Linked DNA regions of Homo sapiens: region 1 is linked to region 2. Evidence: promoter capture Hi-C in human tissues and cell types (Jung and others, 2019). All regions are on one chromosome and are shown on one strand. The core of a region is centred on a gene start or on the middle of the fragment in contact, and the rest is flanking DNA. Distances in the headings are between cores, read along the strand shown.

The links. The method cuts DNA at HindIII sites, captures the fragments that hold promoters and counts their contacts. A contact is called where the count stands out against the background at its distance.
Region 1: a contact is called between a fragment that was not itself captured here and the fragment with the promoter of TNNT2 in region 2, in 1 of the 25 tissues and cell types used here (IMR-90 fibroblasts).

What each region holds. Positions count from the first base shown.
Region 1 is chr1:201,224,036-201,231,219 of GRCh38, forward strand. IGFN1 (immunoglobulin like and fibronectin type III domain containing 1) reads left to right here. Exons shown (of 24, transcript NM_001164586.2): 21 at 644-839; 22 at 1,789-2,088; 23 at 2,847-3,173; 24 at 4,351-4,917. The coding sequence ends at 4,364. Among named protein-coding and RNA genes, the nearest start is that of IGFN1, 37 kb to the left of the region's middle. RefSeq lists an enhancer at 1,521-2,513. The HindIII fragment of the contact is 5,710 bases long and covers 2,713-7,184 here.
Region 2 is chr1:201,372,640-201,380,184 of GRCh38, forward strand. TNNT2 (troponin T2, cardiac type) reads right to left here and starts at 5,041. Exons shown (of 17, transcript NM_001276345.2): 1 at 4,984-5,041; 2 at 575-629. The coding sequence starts at 615. RefSeq lists enhancers at 3,571-4,067, 4,472-5,009, 5,010-5,547, 6,884-7,545. The HindIII fragment of the contact is 17,386 bases long and covers 1-7,545 here.

The DNA of each region.
Region 1 (7,184 bases), core at 4,318-6,817, 150 kb before region 2:
CCTGTGAGGTCAGTTAGTGACTATCAGCATCTTCGTTTGACTCTGGTGCCCACCGTGCCCTGTACTGAGGGCCCCGTAGGGAGTTGACGGCATGGTCACCAAGCAGCTGGGCTGGCCTTCCCACCCTGCTCAGGGTCACCACAGTTCAAGGCCAGGACACCGCAATCTTCCTCCTAGACTATTGCCAAATTATCTCCTACATGGTCTTGGCTGCCAGGGTGGTTAACACTCCCCTCCCCACACATCCCTTCTCATTCCCATCCCACCCCCTGCCATGTGAATCCAGAACTCATTATGCTTTCCTGCTCAGAATCTGACAACAGCGGCTCCTGGCTGAGAGGATAATGTCCAGATGTCTGTAGAGGTGTGACGTGGAGGGCACTTTGCATTTTTGCCGAACCTCTTCGTCCAACTTCCTTTCTTGTTCTACCGCCCCCCTACCATACCCGCCTGCCAACCTCACACTTTATCACCACCCCTCTTTCCCACCTGTGTTTTCTTGTCGACGTTGTGTTTTCTGGTCGACTTTCTCCTTGTAGAAGACTCTTCTCACCGCTTCTACCTTTGGCCTAGCTTAAATGCCATCACCTCCATGAAACTGCCAGCTTCCCCTTCTCAACTTTTCCTTCCTCTCCTTTCTCAGGCCATGCCCATGCCTGAGGTGACCTGGCTGAAGGATGGCTTGCCCTTGCCCAAAAGAAGTGTGACTGTCACTAAGGATGGCCTCACCCAGCTTCTGATCCCTGTGGCTGGACTCTCAGACAGTGGTCTCTACACTGTGGTGCTGAGGACCCTGCAGGGGAAGGAGGTTGCCCACAGCTTCCGTATCAGGGTGGCAGGTGAGGCAGGCCTTGCTCTGGGCTCTGGACGCTGGCTCGGCCACTCACCAAGGCAAAGAGGTGTCCACTGGTCTGATCATAGGTCTCAGCCACTCTACCAGGGCTGGGTATGCAAAGTGACCATTCTCCACCTTTCCTCCATGCTTGATGATAGAAAGTAGAAAGGACCCCAGAAGATCCCCTGGGGACTTCCATTGTCCTTCTGCCTCAGGAGCCTAGAGACAGTCATGTCATGTCTCCTCTCCGACCTCAGTTATCCTTCCCGTTGAGTCAGTGAGCAGAGGCGGTTACCACTGTTACATCACTCCAAAGACCCAGGGGACAAAATTGTCTGCAGCCGTTGCACAGGATAAAGGCTTTCCTCCCCAGCTGTGGCTCCACACAGCCCCTGCCCTGGAGGAGCTTCTGGATATCCAGAAATGATCAAATAGACTAACAGTGGGGGCTCTGTAATGCAGCTTCATGAGAGCCCTGCCTCTGTCCAAAAATGCATGCCTTGTCCTGTGTCATTTTACTTAAAAACTGAAGTGAATTCAGTGAAACCCCATCTCTGCGAAAAATACAAAAAATTAGCCGAGCGTGGTGGTGGCCGCCTGTAGTCCCAGCTACTTGGGAGGCTGAGGCAGGAGAATGGCGTGAACCCGGGAGTTGGAGCTTGCAGTGAGCCGAGATCGTGCCACTGCACTCCAGCCTGGGTGACAGAGCCAGACTCCGTCTCAAAAAACAAACAAACAAACACACTGAAGTGAATTAAAATTACTCTTTTGGGGAGATTTTCTACCCTCTAGAGATAACTGTGGACCGCTGGCCAAGCTTACTCTGGGTCCAGCTACTTGTGTGGCAAGACTGCGTTCCCCAGGACCCTCAGAAGTCCTGGGACCTGGAGGGGGCTGGTAGCAGCCCTGCTGGGTCCCCTCCACGTGACCTCCCTCTGCCGTCTCTCCTGAAGCATGCCCGCAGGCCCCTGGGCCCATCCACCTGCAGGAGAACGTGCCTGGGACGGTGACGGCCGAGTGGGAACCCTCTCCTGACGAGGCCCAGGATGTCCCGCTGCACTACGCGGTGTTCACACGCTCCTCAGCGCACGGTCCCTGGCACGAGGCAGCCGACCGCATCCACACCAACCGCTTCACCCTCCTGGGCATCCTCCCCGGCCACGAATACCACTTCAGGGTGGTGGCCAAGAATGAGCTGGGGGCCAGCAAACCCTCGGACACCAGCCAGCCCTGGTGCATCCCCCGGCAGCGCGGTAAGCAGCCCCTGAGAGGGAGGAGCAGGCAGGGTGGGGGTTGCGCTCTGCAATGCAGTGGGATGCACCCAAGCATGGCAAGCGCGCAGGATAGGGACTGTGGCAGGGATGGCCTGGAGCATGCCAAATAACAGCCAGCAGCCCCGAGCTGCTGCTCCTCCCGCTCCTGCCTCACACCCACCTGTTCTGGCATCCTCTGCACCCCGACCTCCGTGGGAAGAATGAGATTGGTGTGGGTGTTTTGGTGTCTGAGGTGCCTTTGGGAGGATTTTCAAAAGCAGCCACAGACAATAAGGCAAATAGAGGTTAATGTTTCTCTGAAAACAAAGTGTATATTTTACCGCAAAGTAGATGTGGACCTTAAGATCAGTCACAGAAAAGCAGGCTATAAAATCAAATCAAGGTTTCATTTTCATAAAATACAAAAATTTCAGGAAAGCTCTACACCAGAATGTCAGCTATAGTCATCTATAGGTAGTGAGATTATGATTTGGTTTTTATTCTTTCTCCTTTGATTCTCTGTGTATTCTAATTGTCCACAGTGAATGTGTATTAGCTACAAAAAAAAATCCATAAAGAATTTTAGGAAAAGGATAGAATGAGGCAAGCCTTGGGGTCCAAATTTGCAGGCAAGATGTGGCAGGAAATCCCAGATAAGGCCTACATGGTAGCTTCATGAACTCTTTACCCAGACCCGGGTCTCAGCCAGGCCTTCCTCGCTTTCTCACCCTCTTCTCTCACCCCGGCTTTCACCACAGACAGGTTCACAGTGAAGGCTCCGTGCTACCGGGAGCCCGACCTGAGCCAGAAGCCCCGGTTCCTGGTGGGCCTGCGGTCCCACCTGCTGCCCCAGGGCTGCGAGTGCTGCATGAGCTGTGCCGTGCAGGGCTCGCCCCGGCCCCACGTCACCTGGTTCAAGAATGACCGCAGCCTGGAAGGAAACCCCGCGGTGTACAGCACTGACCTGCTGGGCGTGTGCTCCCTCACCATCCCCAGCGTATCCCCGAAGGACAGCGGGGAGTACAAGGCTGTGGCTGAGAACACGCTGGGCCAGGCAGTCAGCACTGCCACCCTCATTGTCATAGGTAATGGTGGCTGCCCTGGCAGTGGGGCAGGAAGGAGAGCCAGGAGAGCAACCACCTGCCTGTCAGGGAGGCTCCGGGGGGTGCCTAGAGGGATTCAGCCGGGAGTCAGGAGACCAGGACTCTCTGCCTGACTCTATGAACTTTCAGCTATTTAACCTACCAACACCGGCCCACATGTGGTCTTTATTTGCCCACTTTTTAAAAAATTTATTTTTATTTTTAGTTTTTTTTTTTTTGAGACGGAGTTTCGCTCTTGTTGCCCAGGTTGGAGTGCAATGGCATGATCTCGGCTCACTGCAGCCTCCACCTCCTGGATTCAAGAGATTCTCCTGCCTCAGCCTCCTGAATAGCTGGGATTACAGGCATCCGCCACCACACCTGGCGGATTTTTTTGTATTTTTAATAGAAGGGGGGTTTCATCATATTGGCCAGACTGGTCTCAAACTCCTGACCTCAGGTGATCCACCCGCCTCGGCCTCCCAAAGAGCTAGGATTACAGGTGTGAGCCACTGTGCCCGGCAGATTTGCCCACTTTTAAAATGAGGTATTTGAACTTGGTGAGCAACTCTTGATTGAAGGGCTGTGTACTGCTCACCTAAGCTTCCCAGTGGGGCCACGCTACACATTGCAGGCTGAGAGATGAACAGGCATCCGTATTGCTGTTTCTTAAGTATGTCAAGATATGAACACTTAGTGCCTAGAAAGCCATGCTGATTCTCTCATTGGTAGTCTCCTTTTCAGTAGCACAGATATATATGTTAATAAAGGTTTTTCCTTCGATAGTACTTAAAACACCTTATATTTTGAATAGCAATAAAAGGCAAGCCTCAATTGACCTTTGTGGAAAAACGGCCCCTTTGCACTGGAGCAGAGCATCTCTCCTCTCTGTAGCACCTGTGCTTAGGCATTTAGGAAGCCACTCTCGAAACACCCCAGCTTGTGTACACATGTAGTCCCGGAACGAAGATGGCATTGGGGGTGATTATGGTTCCCCGAGGGGCCAGCAAAGGGCTTTGCCCAAGCTTAGAGAGCACGTGGTGGCTCCAGATTTGAACCCACACCCCCTGATGGCAGAGCCTGTAGTCTAAGCCCCATTCTGAGTTTTCTTCACCACTGAACAGATGCAGGGTGGGGTGGCTGCCCCTCTGAACCAACTGGAATATCCTGTGTCTTGCAGAACCCAGCACCTAGCCTCACCTCACCCTGGGATGGTCCTGGACCCTTGAAGCTTCACTTCCGACACCTGCACTGGCCCGGGAAGCCAATCCCAAGGATGGAGGCTGTGCCCAGAGCCCCAGGAAAATGGGAGTGAGAAGATGCCTGGCGAGGTTTTGGCCAGGAGGACGTGAAGTCCTTGGGGAAGAAAAACAAGGGAGGAGGGCATTCCACCTCCTGGCTCCAAGCTAAGTCACTCAACAGAATGACAGCGAACCTCCTGGACCCTCACCATATGGGTTTCTTTCTTCTTCGCTTCAGGAGATCCAGAGGGCACCTGCCTGCAGGATGGGCCGGCTCCTTATTTTCCTGGGCTGAGCCGTTTGGAGGGAGGGTGGGCACAGCTGGGCCTGCTGTGACCACTGGGAGGGAAGAGGAGAGGAGGTCAGAGGACCTGGGTGAGGACTAGGGCATCAAGGTCGTGTGTGTGGGTGGGGGCAGCCTCCACCTCCTGGATTCAAGAGATTCCAGGGGTGCAGCAAGTGCTTTCTATGCGTTTCTTCATTAAAACATTAGGCTAATACAGGCAGATCATTGGCAAATTTACTTGGGGTGGGTGTGTTGGAGGAAAGATTTCCAAAGCGGAGCCTTTATTCCAGGCTTCAGTTGGGAGGATGGGTGGGTTCTGGATAGAGGAAGAACGGGCTCAGAACTGGACTCTTCTCCTGCAGCCCAGGCCTACATAGTTGATTGCAAGGGCGAGAAAGCCAAGAAGGGTTAGAGGGTAATGGAGAGGCTTCTCTTCCTCCTGGCCTTTGTTTCCTGCACTCTTCTGACTGGCAGAAATCCTGTGAGCAGCAGGGCTGGAGGCCTCCCCAGGTGTTACGTGTGTGGGGACCACAGGGCTGGGGTTGCCTAGGGTTGGCCTATGTCCGTCACTCCCCGGGACCAGAAAGAGTCTGAGTTGGGGAGAATCCTACTCCAGGATCTATGCCCCTGTCAGAAGGGGAAGAAAGAGGCTCTCAAGTGCATGAGGGTGACTCTCACTCAAGGCTGCATGAGGCCTCCTCACCTTCTTCACAGTCCCCACTGCCCCATGTCACAGGAGGGATGGGATGCCTCCCTTTCCCAGGTGGGTCACCCCACCACTGCCCCCAGAACTCTTGCACTCCATTATCCTCAAGGCATGGCCCCCAAACTCTCAGGCTCCCAGGAAATATTCCAGAGTTTCCAGGAGCCAAAAGAAAGGAAGGAGCCCCGGGGAAGGCTGAACCCCACTCTCTCCCAGGGCATCAGCTCTGAGGCCCAGCAGGTGACCCGATGAGCTAGAACACTGTCTGCCCTTCACTCCCTCTGCTCAGATCCTGGCTTCTGCTTCCCTCAGCCTCCCTTTGCCACTAACTGCAGGTCAGATGCATGAAGGAAGGAGGGTGAATCACAGGAGGAAGGGTTAATGCCAAAAATCTGTTTCTGAAGAGTGAGAATATGTGACCAAGGGAAGGTTCTCTGAACCGGAGAGAGAACTGTTCACCTAAAATAGACCAAGAGTGTCCCCCAGAGGCAGGGACACACACCAGACAACCTTTTATAGCTCATTCCTTCCCCTACCAAAGAAACCTGCATGAGCTGTTTTCCTTGGAATTTCTCTTGTTATCTCTACCTTGCTAACACAGCAGGCCAACACCATGGCCATAGGAAAAGAAGGAAGTTCTTAGAAACTGAGAGGCAGTGGCTGGACACCTCAGCCTGTGTGGGGCAGTTCTCATGAGTTCTTTCCATGCTGCACGGTCCTGGAGTTGAAGGAGGGCAGGGCCTCAGGCCAATAGTCTGTGGTTTCAGAAATGCAGAGAAGAGGTCGTTTGCACAGAGGGGGTGACCCAGTGCCTGTGGCATGCCTAGCTCTGAGCAGACACTCATATTGAGGATGAGAAGAGAGACCTTTCTGTACCTCTAAGGGTGGGCTACAGGGGACTGACCTATTGAGGCAATATAAGGACAAAAGACTATAACTCATGATGGCTTCATAAGACACCTTCATTTTTTTTTTATGAGCCTGGATCAGGCACTGTGGAGGCGGAGATGAAGATGACTCAGATATGAGTCCTATAGCCAAGGGATCCATGGCAGGGACGCAAGACTTGAATACCAAGAGCCATAATCCAAGGTAGCCTGTGATGCATATTCTAAGAAAGGCACCAATAAAGTCTAGAGGAGTTCAGAGGAGGAGAGATGCTGCAGACTGAGAACCTCAAGGAGGGCTTCGTAAAGTGGTAACATGCTTGAGGGAAAAGTAGCAACTGGACAGGCAGGAATGGGCAAGGGTGTATCACGGTGGAGAACACCATGAGCAAAGGCAAGGAGGTAGGGAAGCACAAATTGGGTTCGAGGGCTGGCAAATGGTTCAGATTAGACAATTCAGGGTGACCTATGTAGCTATCACAGCCCTTTGGTCTAATGCCAAAGGGAAACATTCTAGGACCAAATTTACAGGTGCATGTGTGCTCTGGGCGCCAACCACGATGGAGGTGGAGTTCCTGCCCTTGGAGGCCTGGGACAGTGGAAAGCAGTTGTCTCTTTTGGCAGTGGACAGCAGAGTGCCAATATCCTGGGGCAGGCCAAGTTAGGTGTCCCTGGGAGGGGCTAGCATACTTCTGTAACTGGGGTGGGATATGAAGACAAAAGGAATGGTCATGGCATTTTCATTCATTTCCACACAAAGCCAAAAAAAGTCCCTGCCAGTCAAGTATAGAATCTGAGCGTATCTCAAAATAATAAGAGCTATTTGTGACAAACCCACAGCCAATATCATACTGAATGGGCAAAAACTGGAAGCATTCCCTTTGAAAACTGGCACAA
Region 2 (7,545 bases), core at 3,791-6,290:
GTCTTAACATCTCAACAAGAGTAAGTTCTGTGAGGGCAGTAGCCGTGCCTATACCTCTGTCTCCTCCCTGGTGACCACTATCCTCTGTAGTTATTGGATTGGCTGTGTCCCACCCCCTGGTTTCCCTCTGGGATAGGACTGTGGGCAGGGCACTGTCATGAGAGAGTAGGGATCCAAGACAGGGTGATAACACTGGGTTCTGAGCTGGGGTTTGGGGGGCATAATCAGCTCTGTGCCTCTGGAGAGTCACTGAACCTTCCTCAGTCAGTTTCAGGAGACCCAACATCTCAGCTTCTCTGTTCATGGCCCCTAGCCAAGACTGGCCAAGGACACTGATGACCCTGGAGCTGAACCTCTGTGCTTCCCGAAGTCTCTCGGCCTGTGCTCTGCCTGGGATCTACAACCCAGGGGTACAGGAGTGGAAAGGAAATGGCTATATCTCTCCTCGGGGTGCCCAAAACACACACAGCTACTTCTACCCAGAATCCGAGGGACAGCTGGGAGGCTCCTGGACCAGGTGTCAGGGCAGCGGCGGGAGAGGACCCCACTCAGGCAAGATGCTCCAGATACTCACTCCTCCTCGTACTCTTCCACCACCTCTTCTATGTCAGACATGGTCTCTGCTCTCCCTCCAAAAGGAGAAAAAAGTCAGTGCAGGTACAAAGGGAAGCCTGCCTTCCTCAGAAGAGCTCTGGCCCCCGTTGTACAGAGATCAGCGAGGCCTAGGGTGAATCTAGTTCCACCCCTCATGAGCTGTGTGACCTGCAACAAAAAGCCTGTTTTCTCCCCTGCTGGGGGAGATAGTGACACCCACATGGCAGCAAGGCCACCTGCTGATGTCCACTTCGTTCCTTGCCCCTGAACAGGCAATACTGCCTGGGATGCTGCATTTCCATTTGTGACACTCAAGACAATGTCTGCAGTTTCTCAACCTTTCCATCCACTCTGCCCACCCCCACTCCACAGGATCTGTTCAGCACTGTACAAATCTTCACTGCACAAAGCCTCACTGCAGCCTCAACCTTCTGGGCTCAAGCGATTCTCCCACCTCAGCCTCCTGAGTTGCTGGGACTATAGTTGTGCACCACCATGCCCGACTAATTTTTGTATTTTTAGTAAAGCTGGGATTTTGCCACATTGCCCAGGCTGTTTCGAACTCCCAGGCTCAAGGGATCCTCCTGCCTCAGCCTCTCGAAGTGCTGAGATTACAGGCGTGAGCCACCACACCCATTCCATGTGTGCTGGACAAAAGTGAGACCTGGACAAAAGGTCTTTGGGCACCCCAAGAGACTGGCCTGGACAAATGAGTGAGAACTTGTCTCTAAATAAATAAATCAAAGCACACAGCGGGGATCCTTGTGGTTTGGGATCTTTTCAGTATGTAGACTGTGGTGATGGATACGTGAACCTCCACAGGTTAAAGTTGTTTAGAGTTTCACATACACATGGTGCAATTGTGGGCAAATCTGAATAAGATCATAGATTGATTGTATTGATGTCCAATCTTGGTTTTGATATAGTACTAATTTTGCAAATGTTGCCCTCGGGAGAAACTAGGCACCGTGTGTAAACGCTCGTTATTAAAGACAACTGTGTACTAGTCTTTAATTATGTCAATGAAAATTCCGATTAAAAAATGTTCCCCCAGGGAACTCATTCTGAGATCATCTTCTCACTGCACTGGGAACAGATAATCTAGATTCAGATCCTCTTCCATTAGCTTGCCGAGGGTGTTTAGGCGAGTCTTTTTAACATCTCCAAACCTCAGTCCTTTCTCTGTCTCATGGAGATAAAGTGTACACATCCTGGCTACTCAGGGTCTTTACGAGGCTCCAGTTGACATTAACAAAAGGGGAAGGCATTAGGCAACATCAGGTGTTACAATGAGCATGTAATCACAGGGAGGGGGCAGAGAGCAAGCACTTGAGTGTGAGACTAATCTCGTTTTGAATGCTGGCTCCAGCATGCGTTTGCCTGCGACCTTGGCAAGGTCACTTAACCTCCCCACATCTCAGCTCTCTTTGCTGTGAAATTACTGCTCTTCTTGGGTAGGTGTGAGGAACAGAGGTAGTGTGAAGTGTAGGCATTCAGCTAATAACTACTATGACCCAACCCTCCGGGGCCATGACAGTGCACTGCTCCAGGGACACAATCACGTTGTTTGAAACGTGAACAGCAGCCTCTGTTATAGTGCAATATGCCAGCTCCACAGCCTTCCTGATGTTGGCTTCCAAGGGAGAGAATGGACAGGGTGATGTGAGAGTGAGGCTAAAGTGAGGCGGGAGAAGAATCCAAATGATGCTCAGGACCACCCTCCAATGCTCCTCCCCTGCTGCCCACCTCCTGCCCCACTCACGCGTGCCAGTGCTGCAGCACCAATTTCAGACCCAAGCCTCAGGATGAGGACAGAGGCACATAGACAGTCCTGCTCACTCCCTCATCACCTCTCCCTGCACATCCCCCCCATAGTGGCTGAGACCAATCCCAGGCACTCATCTGTGGACATCCAGCAAGAGCCAGGGCTCTGGTTGGGTGGGGTGATGTCCAGAGGCTGAGCCATTCCAAGGGAGCTGCCACTGCCCAGCTGCCCCTCCAGGTGGAGGCTTCCCCAGACTCAGCACCCACTGCAGCCCTGGATTGATTGTCTTCAGACCCTGTTCCCATTATGTCCAGTTCTGCTGGGTTAGAAACAAGCATGGCTGCAGCAGAGTGGTCCTTCCGCTGCTCCCTCTGCTGGAGCAGGGTGAGGACAGTGAGGGAGGAGCCTTGTTTACAAGGAGCTCTGAACCGCAGCTCTGAGCCACTTTTTTGCCCCAACCCCCAGGGTGGGGTGAGTGGGTGAGAAGAAGAGACATCAAATGTGCGAGGTGCTATAATGCGGGATCAAGCCTCATTCTGCTGAAAAAAAGACTCAAACCCCAGAGGTTCTCCAAATAGGTCTTAGGATGAGAGTGGCCAAAGAGAATAGCCTTCCTAACCCTAGGATGGGTGGGGCTGACAATTGTTACCCAAAGCCCCAGGGGAGCGGCCAGAACTAGTGACTTGAGAACTTGAGGAGCTCCTACCTGAGCCCCAGGAGAAGCTTGTCCCTCAGTGGGAGGGAGAAAATTCTCAGAGGAACCGTGCATGGCCAGCCTGGGCGCATAGCTTCTAGCTTTCTCTCTCCTCTCCTACTCTGCCCTTCCACCAGTTCAGAGCCACTGGGCATGGTGCTGGGGCCTCACAGGAGGACAGAGCAGCTTGGACTCCTCTCCCTGTTCCTGGGGGCACCATCCAGCTCCCAAAAATAGCATGCAGACATGCAGGATGGAGGAGGGCTTTCAGCCAGCCCAGAGGACACCACCATGCCAGTGGCTCAAAGGCAGGACCTGATGCAGGGGAAAGAGGTGGGCTGAGACTGGGGGCTGCAGAATGGGAGAGAGTCAAGAACCTGGCAGGGCAAGGAACCAGAATGTCCTGAAACACCTGTGTCCTCACACCCAAGTCCCACCCACTTCCACAGGCAGCTTTCTAGCCTAATGCATTCATAGCCAACACGTGTTGGAAGCCTAACACGTTCACAGGGTCACCTTTCTTGGGGAGTAAAGCAAAGACAATAGAAGGCATAAGGCATACTGACCTTGGGGTCAAAAAATCTGGGCTTAAAACCCAGATTTTGCTGTGTGGCCTTATTTAAGTCACCTAGCCTCTCTGACTTCAGTTAACCAACTACAAAGCAGGAGAGCCTTGAGTTCTGTCCCTGTAGAAACAGTCTCCGAGTTTCTGAGAAACACAGGCCCCACCCCTCAGTCCTTGTCCCCAGCACTCGAATGGGATTTTCCTAAGCCAACAGCTGTTAGCCCACCAGGAGAGCGGGGGTAAGGGGATGGGGAGAGGGCAGGAAGAGTGGAAGTGGGGGTCAGAAATAGGAGGCAGCCAGCAACCTGATCCTCTCAGATTCCACTTTTGCAGAGAGAAGGAAGATTCGCCCTCTAAGACATGGGTCAGAAAAGGAATTTGGGAGGGCAGGTAGCTTCCCGGCTACAGCAGGCCAGGAATGTGCTCTGAAATTCCTTACACACCAGGCAACCCCCTCCCTGAATAGTCCTCAGCCTGCCCAGGAGAAACTAGAAACCAAGGGAATCTTTCTCTACCACTCCTGGGCACAGAGCAAGGCTTGTCCCAAGATGGGGTGTTGGGGTGGGATGGGACAAGGGTTACACTTACGGGGGCCCAGGTTAAACCCTTTAATGCCAACCAGCTGGGCTCACACCCAAGGACAGGTTCTCCCAGTGGGGCCTTTCCCCATCTGCCCCCCAAGTGCAGCTCAGCTCAGGGTCTGGGAGCTCAGCTCAGCTCTGGGAGGGAATGGCACTGAGTCAGCGGCATCAAATGGAATTCCCGCGTTGGCCTGGAGAGGCGCTGCAGAGGACCCTGCACATCTGGTCGTTCTCAGTACTTCCAGGACAGTTTCTGAGTTCCTAGCCTTGAGAATATGACCAGGAGACTCACTTGACTGACAGGGCTGCAGTCTCGCTCTGCTCCCTGGGACTCAAGAAGGACCTGACTGGAAAGGTATAGGTGACCCTCGGCCTGGAACAAGCAATTTAGGGGAGTCTCTGTTGGTTAGAGCCTCATTGTATTTAGAGCAGGCAGAGGCCTAGCAAATATTTAGCCCACTCTACAGATGAGAAAACTGAGGCCTGGGGAGGGAAAGTGACTCATCCAAGAGTTTAAACTCTACATCTTTAGTGGCAGGTCCAGGACTCCAACCCTAGTCTCCAATGGCTACCATGGGATTCTCTCTTTCTCTCTGCTCTATTGTACCAATCTTGGAGCCCAGACCTGGCAACCTGTCCTCTGAAGTGTGGCCTCCACCAGGAGGGGCCATGGACTTCTGCGGACACAGGCAGACTCTGGGTAAATATGCCAGGGCCCAAGACCCTCACATCTCCCCGTCCATTCTCTGCTCTCCTCTTCCCCAGAGCCCTGCCCGAGCCTTACCTCAGAACAGCAGCTGCCGACAGATCCTGGAGGCGTCTGCTCAGTCTCAGCGGGGACTGGGTGAGGCAGAGGATGGAGAGGGCTTTAAGCAGGCATGTGGGCTGGGGCCTGGTGAGCCAGCCCTGCGGAGGGAGGAATGTGCGACAGGGGACGGGTGGGGCAGGGGGATGGCGGTGGGGGTGGGGGGTGTTGGCTGCTATTTTGGCAGGTGCCAGGGACAAGGCTACAGGAACATGTACCCCACGCCATATAAGCCCATGTGGTCCTCCAGCTGCTCAGATAAGCTATTTAAAACCAGAGCAGATATGCAGGGAACAGTCATGCAACATAAACCAGCTGTCCCTCTTGAGAATCCTGATAAAGCAGAGGCCAGCAACCCAGGCCTGGGAGGGCCAGCTGGGAGCAGGGTTGGGGGGCAGAAGGCAACCTCCAAGACACTCCATAAGTCTCAGCACCAGAATCTTGGAAGGCAGAGGGCAAGAGTTATGTGCTGCTCCACTTGAACTGATGCTGGGGGTAAAGACATCTTCCAGGCTACTGGCTCCTAATGGACTGAGCAGCCTTAGGCAGGTTGCCGGCTCTGCCAGCCCCAGTGAGGACATCTGCAAGGTGGGTCTTCTCCATGACCCCCAAAGCCATGTGGCACACCCTCCTCACAGGGAATGGACTGAAACTGCTACAGGAGGCCAGATACAAGGTAGAACTTCCAGTCAAGAACCTTGAACAGGCGCTCGTTGTGTGAGAGGGGTGATGCGGACTGTCAAAGGTCATCCCCTAACGGCTTTAAAATCAAGCAGTGCGGGGCTATGATCTGCTAAACCTACTAGATTGCAGATGCATAGGTCAGGCCTAGGGGTCTTGCTTGCTTGCCTGTGTCTGACCATGCACATGCACTTGTATGTTCAAGGCTGGCCCATTGCAGGGTTTGGTAGATTATGAAAATGAAAGAGACAGGAGGAAAGCAAGCCAGTAAGCAGCTGAGCTGACTCTCCCCTCCATCTCTTTCTCCGAATCTTCACAGCCTAGGTCCTGCTTGGCTCTGAAGCAGGAATGGTCCTCCTCTGGAGCAGGCCCTCCCCTCCTCCATGACCCCCCCTGGCACTTAAAGATCTTGCCCATTCATGATCCACACTCCTCTGTTTCTCCGTGGGCAAAGAAAGCAATCTCGCTATTCTCTGCCCCCTTCTCCCATCACCCAATCATGTGTCCCGCCTTCCCAGTCCTCAAACTCTTCTCTCAATCCCTCTGCCTTGGGAGCTACTATGCTGCCTCCACCACTAATGTCCTTGAAAGGGTCCTCTGCGCAGGGGACTGCCATTTGCTCCACACCCATGCTGCTGTCAGACTCTTGTCCCATCACTCAGCTGACTCCATCCCCTCCATAGTTCCCTGTGGCCTCTGAGTCCAGTGGCCTTGATTGCCCTGCCACGTGGGCCTCCACACTGCCAGCACATCTGTGGCAGGGCAAGCTGAAGCCAACCGCCCGCTGGCCAGCATTGTGGGACTGAGGACCACCACAGGGAAGCAGGGGCACTTTGTAGAGAGACAGGCAGATGGAGGGGACAGATTCCCGAGGGATAGTGAGGAAGGAGTCAGGCTGTCAAGAAAGTGGGGGGAGCCCCATCATCTCTCTCTCCCATTCTAGCCCACGAAGCAGGGCCCAGCCTTGCCTTGGGTCCTGGCCTGGAGTAACGTAGAATTCGGAATTACTTTTCCCAAACCCTTTTTTAACTTGAGGGTGGGTTACTGTTCCTTGTAAGCCCAATAACCTTTCAAACAGACCACGGTTTATTTGCATGGATGCCTAGAAGAGGGATCTGGGCACCTAGGTCACTACTGAGCCCCATGGGAAAAGCCCAGTAGATCCTTGGTGTCACAGGCCACACGTGTATGGCTTCGAATTGTTCTAAGGCAGGAGCTTCGTTCAGAGCGCTGTGAGACAGCCTCTCAGATAAGGAAATCCAGCCCCCATGCAGCAGCCACTCCTGGGCATAGTAGGGTTACTCTTAGCCCATTTTTTTTTTATATCCCTGTCCTTTCAAAGGGATGTAAAGAGAAAACAAAGCCAGAGTGGAATGGGAGGCTTATGCTGAAACAGTGCATGTAAATTTGAGGATCCACAATAGGACGGGCCACTTGTGGGGCACAGGGCCCCTGTGGCAAGACAGCAGGAGGGTGCAGCCCGGAGTGGTGTGTGGGAGCCCTGTTCTGTCTCCAGAAGGTGCCCAATGTCACCCATCCAGAGGCCTCCCCACCCGCCTGGACACCCAGTCGCTACCACTCATCTATCCCCAGCTGAGGTCATCTTGGGCACACCCTGGTCTCCTTGTTTACTGGCTGCGTCCCCAGTAGGAACGAGGGCAGGGCCCTCACGTGCTGGATTCACAGGGGAGGGGGCTGTGCTGTAGCACCCCGACATTTCCCCTAGCAGTCAGCCCTCACTGGGCACCCCAGGGGAGGGGGGTGCAGGCATGAAGGGCCCTGCTGAGGCTGCAGCTGCAGGAACAGGCCCCTCAGTGTCTTCCTAGGCTCTTACTCCACGGTCAGGCCCTGCCAGGTGAA